Linked DNA regions of Homo sapiens: region 1 is linked to region 2. Evidence: promoter capture Hi-C in human tissues and cell types (Jung and others, 2019). All regions are on one chromosome and are shown on one strand. The core of a region is centred on a gene start or on the middle of the fragment in contact, and the rest is flanking DNA. Distances in the headings are between cores, read along the strand shown. Region 1 has its middle 120 kb from the start of SAMD12. Region 2 holds the start of MED30 (mediator complex subunit 30).

What was found. Contacts are between HindIII fragments. The study calls those that stand out against the background at their distance.
Region 1: a fragment that was not itself captured here is called in contact with the fragment with the promoter of MED30 in region 2 in 1 of the 25 tissues and cell types used here (hippocampus).

The regions. Positions count from the first base shown.
Region 1 is chr8:118,740,499-118,746,778 of GRCh38, forward strand. No RefSeq gene overlaps it. Among named protein-coding and RNA genes, the nearest start is that of SAMD12, 120 kb to the left of the region's middle. The HindIII fragment of the contact is 3,609 bases long and covers 1,217-4,825 here.
Region 2 is chr8:117,516,027-117,522,091 of GRCh38, forward strand. It overlaps MED30 (mediator complex subunit 30), which reads left to right and starts at 4,687. Exons shown (of 4, transcript NM_080651.4): 1 at 4,687-5,027. The coding sequence starts at 4,851. LOC105375716 (a long non-coding RNA gene) reads right to left here and starts at 4,694. Exons shown (of 7, transcript XR_928569.3): 1 at 4,528-4,694; 2 at 3,013-3,151. The HindIII fragment of the contact is 5,716 bases long and covers 1,438-6,065 here.

The DNA of each region.
Region 1 (6,280 bases), core at 1,771-4,270, 1.2 Mb after region 2:
CTGGTGTCAAGGTATCAGCTCCGCTCTCCCATGAGTGACTCAGGCCCCTGCCTTTCAGTGTGCTGGTCTCTCTAGCAGTCATGGGGGTTGGTGGTTTTGCCTGATTTTTCCCAGATCCAAATTCTACCATTTACTTGAGCATTTACCCAAGCTTATTAAATAGATCTCACCATCATCGAAGAAAAAATGGCAAGTAAATCTCACTCACTTTTCTCTGAAGCTGGTTCAGACTGCAGAATTCTCTTAAATTATCCAGTAGACAGGCTCTGATCACATCTGGGATTGAAGATGCTCCAGCTGCTTTTCTCTCTAAGATCAAAGTTATTTTTTGACAACACATGCTGACGAATCCAAACTGACGCCAATAACTGTTTATAGTTTCTCTGGGTGCAAACATAAATATTTTAGATGACTGCATCCATTTGTTATCACTGTGGCAGAACCCACTTCTCTTATTCTAAAGGAACTGAAAATTGTTGGACCTCTCACCTCCTGTGTGTTCAGAAAGCCAAACTTCTTTCTTTTCTGCCAATATTCCAGGACCCTAAGAGGTCTCCGTAGAAAACTTACAAGTATATTCACAAAAGTGAGCATCGTATTGATGCTATGTTGCTTTTTTATTTTCCTAAGTCTACTATGCAGTGTTTCTCCCTACATTCCCCACTTCTATTTTCAATTTTGTATATATAGGACTGGACAATATACCAGAGTTTCTATTCCTAAGTAAGAACCTAATTTCCTAGATGTTGTTTTTAACCCTCAAATTGCTTTTAAAAACCAGATCATAAATAATAGCTATTTTCAAAGTTCTCTTATATGCATTATCTCATTTAATGCACAAAATTTTCCAAGAGAAAATTACTCATAAATTCATTCTTAGAAACGTTATTCCACATACCCCAAGTCAGAGTGCCGAAGAGTGGTGGGGCTGGGTATAATAGAGTTGCATTGCCCACAAGCAGGGCCTGGGAGCATGTACCCACCCTGATGGCTCTTAGCCAATGCCTGCCTGGGCTGGATTATGAAACTCCAGCATGCTTGATTCAGATTGAGATGATTTTGAGGGGTAACTTCCACTCCAGCATGCCCCACTGGGATTGGACTGTATTTTTCCTCATCAAACCTTTTGCTTGAGGTCATGCCCATCCTTGGCTTCTTCCCTACTTTATTTTCCTTCTTTTTGTCCCTTATAAGTTTCCTGGAGATCCCATTCTTAATGAACAATTTGCACACAAATTCTTTCTCAGTATCTGATACTGGTTATCCTCACCTAAGACACCAACCAATAGTGCTTGATATCAGAGCTCAAGCTCTTACACATGATCCAATTTGAGATTCTTCCTAAAAAGGTGCCAATTATTCTTCCTTATAAGAGAAAACCTTAATTATAGGCAAATGTAATTAGATGGATAATGTGCACACACATTCCTTCCTTTACGTGTATTTATTAAGTATTTAATATGAGCCAGATTTAATCTAAGTACTGGTGATACAATGTTAAATGAGATAGCAAAGTCTCTGTTTTCATGGCTTTACATTCCAATACTAGAATATAAGTAAAAAAGTGAAAAAAAAGGAACAAGATAATTGCTGATAGGATCAATGGTATGAAGCAAGTAAAATGGAGTTATGAAATCCAGAAGGGAAAGGACTGATTTTCACAGGGTGCTCAGGAAGGTGTACTGGCCTGAGGCAGTGATATTCTCTGTGACACTGAAATGAAAAGAAGGAGCTGGACGTGCAAGAATATGGTGCCATACAGAGAAATAAGCAAATCTGAACTCCTAAGTGGGAGCAGCCTGGGAGAGTTGGAAGAACAGAGAGAAGGCCAGAGTGCCTGCAGTATATTGAGTTGTGGGAAGGGAGGAAGCTGAGAGAGTGAAGAATAAGTAGAGGCAAGATTATGGAAGGGCTTTGTAAACCATGCTATGGGGTTCAGGTTTTATTCTCTGGGTCATCCCTGGAGGTTTATAGTTTAGAAAGATCATTCCAACTGTGCTGCTGAGAATTGAAGATGAAGAGGCAAAAGTGGATGCTGGGACCATTAAATAGGCTATGGTTGTAGATGATAAAGAAAAATGAAAGTGGGCTGGACTCTTGGACTCCTCTGGCCCCTGTAGATAAAGAGAGGTGGAGATAGTTTTGGATTTTGAGGTAGGGCTGCCAAGACATGGAGACGGATTGGGTTTGGTGAGTGAGAGCGTAGAGCTTGCGAGGATGATTTTGTACAATTGGGGTTCAAGCAACTGAGCAGATGTGTGGCCATTTATAAGATGGGGAAGCTTGGGGGAGAAACAGGATTTGGGGATAAGAAAAATTACATTTGTATAAGTGCAGAAATATAATAGTTATTATATACCCTTGGTTTTATAAAATTTGAAATTTGATTCAGTTCCCATAGGCTTTAATGAAGAAATTTGTGTTGATTAACAGCAGACAGTGCCTTCAGTGTTGACTTTATTGCTTCTACAATGAATAAAGCCCTTTCAAGAAGTTTAGTTTTATTCCGCTATCAGGGTGTTCTCTATGGGAAATTCTTCCTTGTTGTCTATTCACAATTATACAAGGTCCCATTCTTTGACATGGAAATAAGCAGCAACGCCCACTGAAGTCAGCAATAGAAACTTGGCTTCCATTGCCACAAATTGTGCAGGTCCACACATCCTGAAGATAAGACTTGGAAAGAAAGTCAGGACTGAGCAAAAGTGCCTGGCTCTGATTTTAAAGGCGAGCTCATATAAACATCTCTTACGCATGATTCTGATCCTTAAACATTGAGGCATGGCTTTTATAATGAGAAAAAAAGTCTCTCATCCCCTAAATGTCAGTGCTTATGTTTTGGTCACTTGGGTTCCAAAAAAACACAATCTTTTAAAGAGAAAAATGTTACAGACATTGTCAGTATCTTAAGGAAGATCCCTCAACCTGTCATTGGTGTTAGTGTCCACACACAAGTGGCTTCACAAGGTAGGAACTTGTTGCTGGAGTCAGTGAGGTTTGGTTTCTCATTTTATGCTACTGGGTTCTGCTGTGGTCATAAGGGTAGTAGCTGATAATCCCATTTCCTCACTGTGTTGAACACTTGGAAGTCTGCCATAAACCAATTTTCTGTTTTTCTTTAGCTTTTCCAGAGTAAAAGAATTTTTTTTTTTTGGTGTTGAAGATGGACAAGGTTTATAACAAAACTTGTTCTTCATTTCTCCAGAGAAAGCTTTTGTTTTCCAAACAAGTACTTCTTGATTATTTTACCAGGGAGTGCATGGTTACCATCCTGTAATGTCAGCCCCATGCCAGCAGATGGCAGTCACACCACACCACGCTGTGGCAATCAGCTAAGCTTGAGAACACCAGGAATCTGTCCTTTTCACAGAGGAAGGGTCTGATGTGCTCTGTGCCATGGCAGGAGGGGTAACTAGCACGGAGATGAATTCCAGAGAACTCACTACATAAGTCTATAAATTTGTCCCTAAACTTGAAGATATTCTTAGTTGAAAAAGGAAACAAAACAGAGGGAAAAACAAACAAACAAACAAACAAAAACCCAAACCTCTAGCTAAGTCTGTCAAAATGAGCTATGAGGTGGACAACCCAAGGTCTTGAGCTTATGCTGGGCTTTGTTTCACTGATACATGGATCAATATAATCATAGTCAGGGAGCTGGCATGAAAGCAGAATGGCTGAGAAAATAAGACTGGAAACGACTAACTGCAAAAGTATTTTATTTTCAGGAGGATTAACTGCTTCTGGGGTGGCTGAGTGTGGTAGAGGAAAAACAGAAGAAACTCCAAGGTGAAATTAGAAATCTTAGAAGAGCTCTTCTTTCTCCCATAGAGGTAACACAGTATTTCCAAGAAATTATTGATAGTAGGAATAAGGATTTCCCCCAGACGGAAAGGAGACATTGATGTACTGCGGGCATCCCAACTTCTACCTCATCATGCGTTTCTGAGTTTCTTCCACCATGACCCTGATGGTTTTGGTTACTCTCTCCTTCCCACTAGTTACGTGGTTGCTCTGCTTTTAGTTGAAGTTGTGCTGACTTTGGGATAGGTGTAGGGTTAAATGGTATCAAGAGGACATTCCTATTTATTGACCTACAATGTGGTTTCTGTACCTGAGCAAAAGACATATTTTTTCTCTATATTTGAGTTGGTCTTTTGAGACCGGCAAAGCTGTGGAAACAAAGCTTTGCTTAAGGAAAATGGCCACAATCTATTGTTAGAAAGAAGCCTCAAGTACCATGAAAATGGACCACACAGGTCAGGGATTTCTCAAAATGTTTCTTTTCCCAGGAAAATATTGAAACTAGGACTATTGTGGAATTACACAGTTTATGATTGCCACTTATGAACTACACCGGAATCAGGCTTGAAGGGTTCTGAACCATAAGAAACTTCCTCTGGAAATGAATGTGGTAGCTGAGTCCACATGTGTGGGAGGCCAACTGCATAGCTGGGAGTTGTCACAATTAACTTCTGCAGATAATTCCATGTTTATTAAATAAGTGATTTAAGTGTGACACTATTGTATGTGCAATGTCTCTTTTCTATCTGGTGGAAATTCTTATTCTTACTATAAAGAATTCCTTTGGAAATACTGTGTCATTACACAGTTTATGATCAATGGGTTATCATAAACTGTATAACTATCTGCAGCTATTTACAGATAGTTGCTATCTGCAGAGCTATCTGCAAAACTGTGATGTAAAACCATAAAGGCATTCGCAGCTTATTGTTCCTATTGCCCTTTCTATGTTTGTTGAAGGTTGAGGGTTTGCTTATTTTCCATCCTAGTAATTGGATAGTTATATGATCATCCATCCATATTTGAGTAGAGGTCGGATACATATGTCCTCAGTGTTCCAGCCAAGGTCTGGACAGTGGAAACAGTCCATTTGGGGTGCAGACAATGAGGGGGTACATTACCCATACATAACTTAAATACGCAATAAAATTGACTAAAATTTAATCTGCTTTTAAATAGTCACCATGCTCAGAAATTCTTAAGTACCATTAATGAAAAGATCTTTTTCTGGTCTAATTTGCAAACATTTGCTGTGATTGCAGCTGTGTTTCAATAATATATATGCGTGCTTCAAATTAGCACATTTAAATCACTTATTTAATAAACATTGAATTCTCTGTGGAAGTTAATTGTGACAACTCCCAGCTATGCAATTGGCCTCCCACACATGTGGACTCAGCTACCACATTCATTTCCAGAGGAAGTTTCTTATGGTTCAGAATCCTTCAATCTTAATTCTGGTACAGTTCATATTTTCAACCCCCATGATACTGTATATTCCTGTATTTAGACAATGCATTGGAGATAAACAAAGATAGCTATAGTAATTTTTCTTATCTGAATTATATTTTGTTTCTGGTTTGAAGTTGTGGGCAAAGTTAACCAGACACAAAAATGTTTGCAGACAGCCAGAAATGGTTTAATGATGTACCAGAAACAAGCTTCAAGCTTGTTGCTGGAAGACGGGTGCATAGAAATAGTGAAAAGGCTATCAACTATGAAAAATGTAAGGAATTGGACATTACATGGGAAAAAAATCAGATCAGAAAAAATTGCCCATAGAAATAACAAAGATGCCACTTTCACATTGTCAGAAGAAATCAGAAGTCAATGTCTGAATGTCCTGATCATTTTCACCAAGATTTGGACATTAGTTCTAAAGCAGAAGGAAGACTTAGAGAAGTTTTTACTAGATGTAATAGAAGTTTATGATGAATTTCTGCTGAAAGTATTTTAGGGGAATTTTTTTGACTGTCAAAATATTTGAAAGGGACTAGAATGATACCAAAAAAACAAAGATATGAGAAGTATGTGATTTCTGGAATTTATTATGAAACGGAATTTTTATGAAAAGTTGCCAGGATTAGACTTAGGTTAAGAATTTTCTTAGCTGTTTGTATCTCTGCTGTTTCATGTGAAAGAAATTTCATGAGATTAAAATTAATAAAACATGTTCTTTCATCAACTACCAGGGAATAGATGGACAAAAAAGCATTTATTGTCTATTGAACATGAATATGTGAAGAAAATTAATTTTGACAAAGTTTCTGAAAGATTTGTATATAGTTAAGGCTGGAAACAGAAACCAGACTCACACAGTGGCTTGCGCCTGTAATCTCAGCACTTTGGGAGGCCGAGGTGGGAGGATTGCTTGAGGCCAGTACTTTGAAACCAGCCTGGGCAACAAAGTGAGACCGTATCACCATAAAACATTTAAAAAATTACTCAGACATGGTGGCACGAGACTGTAGTCCTA
Region 2 (6,065 bases), core at 3,437-5,936:
AATGGTGTTGCCTCCTCTTCCTCTTTCTGTTCCTTAGTGTTCCCATTGGCTCTGTCCTGGAACAGCTTCTTCCTCACTTCTCACTTTATCCATTTTCCTCACCGTTACCCATGGTGGAAGGAAGTATAGTGCACATTTATTGAATGCTTAGTATACACTAGGAACTATAAGTGTGTTATATATAGCATCTCACTTAATCCTATCAACAATCCCAAAGCTAAATACCATTGTTATTGATGGAGGTTGGTGTCATCTGTCCACTGTTGAGTAATGCCAGGTTTGGATTTTAGTCCAGGACTATCTGACTCCATGGATTTTGAGCTTACTATCACACCCACCCACCTTTCTCTAACCATGTAAAAGGAAAACCCTACCAGGTCCCAGCACACACTCAATTGCTTACTGGATATATCCACTGATGATCATGCACACATTTCAAACCCAAGATGCCCCCGAGTAAACTCCTGGTTCTTTCATCAACTATTTATTGAGCACTTATTATGTGCCAGGCACTGCTGTAGGTGCTGAATCTACTGAAGTAACCAATAGAAACAATCTCTAATTTCATGAGATTTACTGTTTAGCTGAAGGGACAAACAGTGAAAGAAACAACATCAGTTTGAGAGAAACACTACAAAAAATGAAGCAGGCTAAATGGACAGAGAGATGGAGAGGGCTGTACTGTAGGTGGAATAATGGCCCCACAAAGATGCAAACCCTCTAATCCCTAGAAGCTATGACTATGTTGCATTACATGAAACAGGGAATTTTACAGGCGTGGTTAAGGTTAAGGGTCTCGAGGTGGGGAGTTTATCTAGAATAACGTAGATGAACCCAGTATCATCACATAGGCCCTCAAAAGTGAAAGGTTAGAGGTATGTGACAAGGACAATGGAATAAGATGCAGGAGAAATTTAAAGCATGAGAGAGACTTGCCTGCCATAGCTGGCTTTGAAGATGGAGGAAGGGACCACAAGCCAAGGAATGTGGCATCTCATAGAAGCTAGGAATGGCTGTCAGTTTACAATCAGTAAGAAAATGGGGACATAAATTTCTGCTGCTTTAAGCCACTAAATTCTGATATTTTTTTCCAGCAGCAACAGAAGACTAATGCAGGCTATTTTTTTTCTTTTTTTTTTTTTTTGAGACAGAGTCTTGCTCAGTCGCCCAGGCTGGAGTGCAGTGGTGCGATCTCGGCTCACTGCATGCTCCACCTCCCAGGTTCACGCCATTCTCCTGCCTCGGCCTCCCGAGTAGCTGGGACTACAGGCGCCCGCCACCATGCCCAGCTAATTTTTTTGTATTTTTTAGTAAAGACAGGGTTTCACCATGTTAGCCAGGATGGTCTCGATCTCCTGACCTCGTGATCCACCCGCCTCGGCCTCCCAAAGTGCTGGGGTTACAGGTGTGAGCCACAGCACCCAGCCTGATGCAGGCTATTTTAAGTAGGGTGGCCAGAAAAGGCCACTGTAAACAAAGCCTGGAGAGATAGCTGAGAGAAGAGCTTCCCAGGCCAAAATAAATGAGTCTGAAGTGAGATGAACTTGGAGTGCACAAGGAATAGTAAGGAGGTGTATGTATCTGGAGTGAGGGGAGAGCTGTGGGAACTGAGAGAGCAGGAACAGCCTAGGCCAGCACATGTGGAGGTGTGCAGGTCATGCAGCTTTGGATTTTATTCTAAGCACGATGAGAGGACAGGAGAGCAGGGGAGAATCATAACCTGACTTAGCTTGTAAGTTTGCCTGTGGGTGCTGTAATGAGTGTGGACTGGATGGGGCAAGTGTAGCAGGAAGGGAGTTCAATTAGGAGACTCTTGATTGTTATCCAGCATTCTAAATAAGAGAAGACAGCTTGGACTAGGTTGAAAGGGGTGAAGTAATTGGTCACATATAGGATATATTTGAAAGTCAGAGTTCATTCTATTTTCTGATGACTTGGAAGTAGGGTGGGAAAGAGAGAAGCCAGGATGGGCAACTAAATGCATGGTGGTGCCAGACAATGACATGGGAAAAGTGTGGTAAAGAAGGTTGGGAGGGATCAAGAGTTGGGTTTTCTTAGACATAAGTTTTAGATGCCAAATAGCCATCCAAGTCAAGATGTCAGGTTTTTAGGTATGTGAGTTTGAATTTAGGGACAGTTTGGATTGGCGGCATGTGGTAGGCAGATTTTAGTTACTCCCCGAAGATGTCCACATCCTAATTCCCAGAGTCTGTATGTCATGTTACATGGCAAGGGGCGATTAAGGTAGCAGACGGAACTGAAGCTGCAAAACAGCTGACCTTAAAATAAAAAGATATCCTGGATTATCTAGGTGGACCCGATGTAATCAAAATGATACTTAAATGAAAGAGAGGCAGAGGACTCAGAACCAGAGATATGGCATATTCAACTAGCCAATTCTGGCTTTGAAAAGGATGAAAGCTGGTTTTTGCAGTTGGTGGAAGTGGTCATGAGCCAAGCAATTGCGGCAGCCTTCTAAAATCTGGAAAAGACAAGGAAACAGATTCCTTCTGAGAGCCCCCAGAAGGGAACACAGCCCGCCAACACCTTGAGCGTAGTTCAGCGAGAACAATTTCAGACTTCTGAGCTAAAAAGCTATAAAATAATAAAAGGTGTGCTGTTTTAAGCCACAAAGTTTGTGGTAATTTGTTACATGTGCAATAGGAAATTAACATAAGGCATAATTTCTCGGAAACTTATTTTTTCTTCAGTGTATCCTGTCTTGGTAAATGACATAAACTTCACCTGAAGTTTCACATGAAAGCAGAAATACGTGCCATCCTTAATTCTTTCCTCTCCTTAATGTTCCTGATCCAGTTACTATCAAGTTCTCTAGATTCTACTTACTAAATATTTATTCAAAGTTACCCTCTGTCTCCTTTCTCTGCACAGGTCATGATCATCATCATCATTCCCCTTTGGGAGAGAAGACAATAGAAACCCACCATCTGTTCCCCATTTAGCAACCAGAATAAGTGTTCTAAAATGAATATTTCAAATTATTCCTCTCACCTTGAAACTCTTCAATGGCTTGCTATTTCACTCCATAAATTCTCAACTGCTTGACATGGGTTAGAAGATCCTCCAGGGTTGCCTCTGTCTTCAGCCTTATTTCCTAACACTCGTCCTCACACTGAACTTCTTCCAGATCCTAGAAAGCATTAGGAGGCCTCTTCACTTCAGGTGTTGGCACTGGCCTTCCTCGTCCTCATAGAAAAGACTCTATCATTCGTTACTCCCTTCCCTATCCACCTTCAGGTTCCACACTGCTCCCTTCAGGTCGTTCTCAATCTCCTAAATTGTTAGCACCCTGATATCAGGAACTTTTGCTTCAAGACGCTCATCACAATAGTGTTCTGTTTGTCCCCATGACAAACATGCTGCAGGGCTTTTGCCTGGTTTGTTCAGTACGCTATCTTCACTCCTAGCACCCAGCACATAATAGGTGCTCAGCCAATATTTGTCGAATGGTAATTACCGAAGACCTGCGAATTACTATGTTTAAAATCTCTACCAGGGTTCCTATGACATATTTAGTAACTATTTCCTGGAAAGTCCGTACAATGGAGCATTCAGATACTTCTAAAAAATGCAATGTTTGTGCCTATCACTAATTTTACATTCTTCACTTTTCCCCACTTTGGAGATGAACAGTAAGTGAGAGACATTGTGAGAGACATTTTAATTTCTCTTGCATTTATCATGTCACTCAACAATCATTCAATAAGTATTTATTGATACTTGTGCCAATCACTAGGTGTTGAGAATAAGTGAATAAAATAGTCTGTTTTCATGGAGTTGGCAGTGTGTGTAGATAGGGTGAGATAAAGTCTGAAAGTAAACAAACTGAAAGCTATATAAAATATCAGACAGTAGGCCGGGCGCGGTGGCTTATGCCTGTAATCCCAGCACTTTGGGAGGCCGAGGCGGGCGGATCACGAGGTCAGGAGATCGAGACCATCCCGGCTAACACGGTGAAACCCCGTCTCTACTAAAAATACAAAAAATTTGTCGGGCGTGGTGGCGGGCGCCTGTAGTCCCAGCTACTCGGGAGGCCGAGGCTGGAGAATGGTGTGAACCCGGGAGGCGGAGCTTGCAGTGAGCCGAGGTCGCGCCACTGCACTCCAGCCTGGGTGACAGAGCGAGACTCCATCTCAAAAAGAAAAAGAAAAAAAAATCAGACACTAATAAGAGCCAGAGTCAGAAAGAAGTGTGTGTGTTGATCATTTTTTTTGCTTACAGATACTGGGAAAACTCAAAGAATAAAACATCTGAGCAGGGACCAAGAGCAATCGGGGAGTCCGTATCATGTCACAGAGAAGCGTACAAGCTTAGGAATCTTGTTTTCTGAATTCGAATCGCAGGTTGCCAGTTACACCTGTATGCGACTCAACAAGTACTTTAACCTGTCTCTTAGCTGTTATACTACAAACCTCAGGCTTGTTAAGAGAAAATGCTCCGCAAGGAACTAAACACAGAAGGTTCTAACGCTGAGCCAAGACTGGGAAACGAACTCTGGGAACTCACCCCAGGCTCCCCAAGAACATCGCCCCTCTGGCTGGAGCGCAATTGGTGATTGGCTACTTAACCCGTCCGTCCTTTCCCGCCCAGGGGTCCAATCCAATCCAGCCCGGCTCCGCTCGGAGACAGTTCGCCGAGTGGGCGGTGTCTATGACGTTTTCTGACGTGTTACGTCACAGTGGGCGGAAGTCGCGGCCGCTGTTTTGAAATCGGGCCGCGGGGGGTCTCTCAAGCTGGTTCCAACGCTGAGGCCCCACAGCCTCCCAATTCCGGGCAGACCCCTGACACCTGCTGTCTGGCCCCTTCCGGCCTGAAGCTGCAGCCGCGCCATGTCCACCCCTCCGTTGGCCGCGTCGGGGATGGCGCCCGGGCCCTTCGCCGGGCCCCAGGCTCAGCAGGCCGCCCGGGAAGTCAACACGGCGTCGCTGTGCCGCATCGGGCAGGAGACAGTGCAGGACATCGTGTACCGCACCATGGAGATCTTCCAGCTCCTGAGGAACATGCAGGTAGGAAGGCGGGCGCGCGAGGCCAGGGGGATGCAGCTGGGAGGGAAAGGGCCTCTGGTTTCCTCTTTACGTGGGGCCCGTGGATGTCATCGGGGCTGCCCTGGGCAAACCTTAGGTGTAGGGTCTCCCCCATTCACACTCAAGAGTGTCCCCAAAAGTCGGATTTGTAGAGGTGATGTTTTCCAGACCAGATTTCTGCAGAATTGAAGCCAATTTTTTTTAGATTCAATCGAGCTCTTTAGTTACTCTGTAAACTCTTGCACCTTTCAAGGCAGAGATGGGTCGCACTCCACTTCCCTCTTTAGGTTGCTTTAAATGTTTTTTCCAGCATTTCTTCTGGGGAGGTCCAAGGAGTTGAAGAATTTACATTTTTTTTAAAAAAACAGTCCTCCTTTTTTTGGCATAGTTAATATACAGTAAACTACACTCACCTAAAGTTTTGATATATATGTGTACTGTAGTCTGTATACTTGTGAAATTATCACCACAATCAAAATAGTGTACACATCATCCCAGAAAGTTTCTTCATACCCCTCTGACATCTTTGCTTCCCACCTTCCATCGCTAAGCAACCATTGATCTGCGTTCTGTAATCATAAATTAATTTGCATTTGCTAGGGTTTTATATAAACGGAGTCTACAGTATGTGGGCTTTTTTTTTTGTCTGAGATCCTTCACTAAGAATGCATCAATAATTTCCTTTTTATTGCTGAGTAATGTTCCATTGTATCCATGTATCACCATTTGCCTACCTTTTCTTCTGTTGATGGACATTTGGGTTGTTTCCACTTTTTGGCTGTTGTAAATAATGCTGCTATGAACTTTTGCTGACAAATTTTTGTGTGAACGTATGTGTCATTTCTCTTGGACAGATTCAGGAGTGGAATTGCTGGATCATGCAGTACATGTCTGTTTAATACTTTAAGAAACTTTTCCAAAGTGGCCTGAGCCATTTTACGTCCCGATTATTGCTAGTGGGAATGTAAACATTGCTGTTTGAGGGTTCTAGTTTCTCCTCATCCTCATCAACACCTGTTA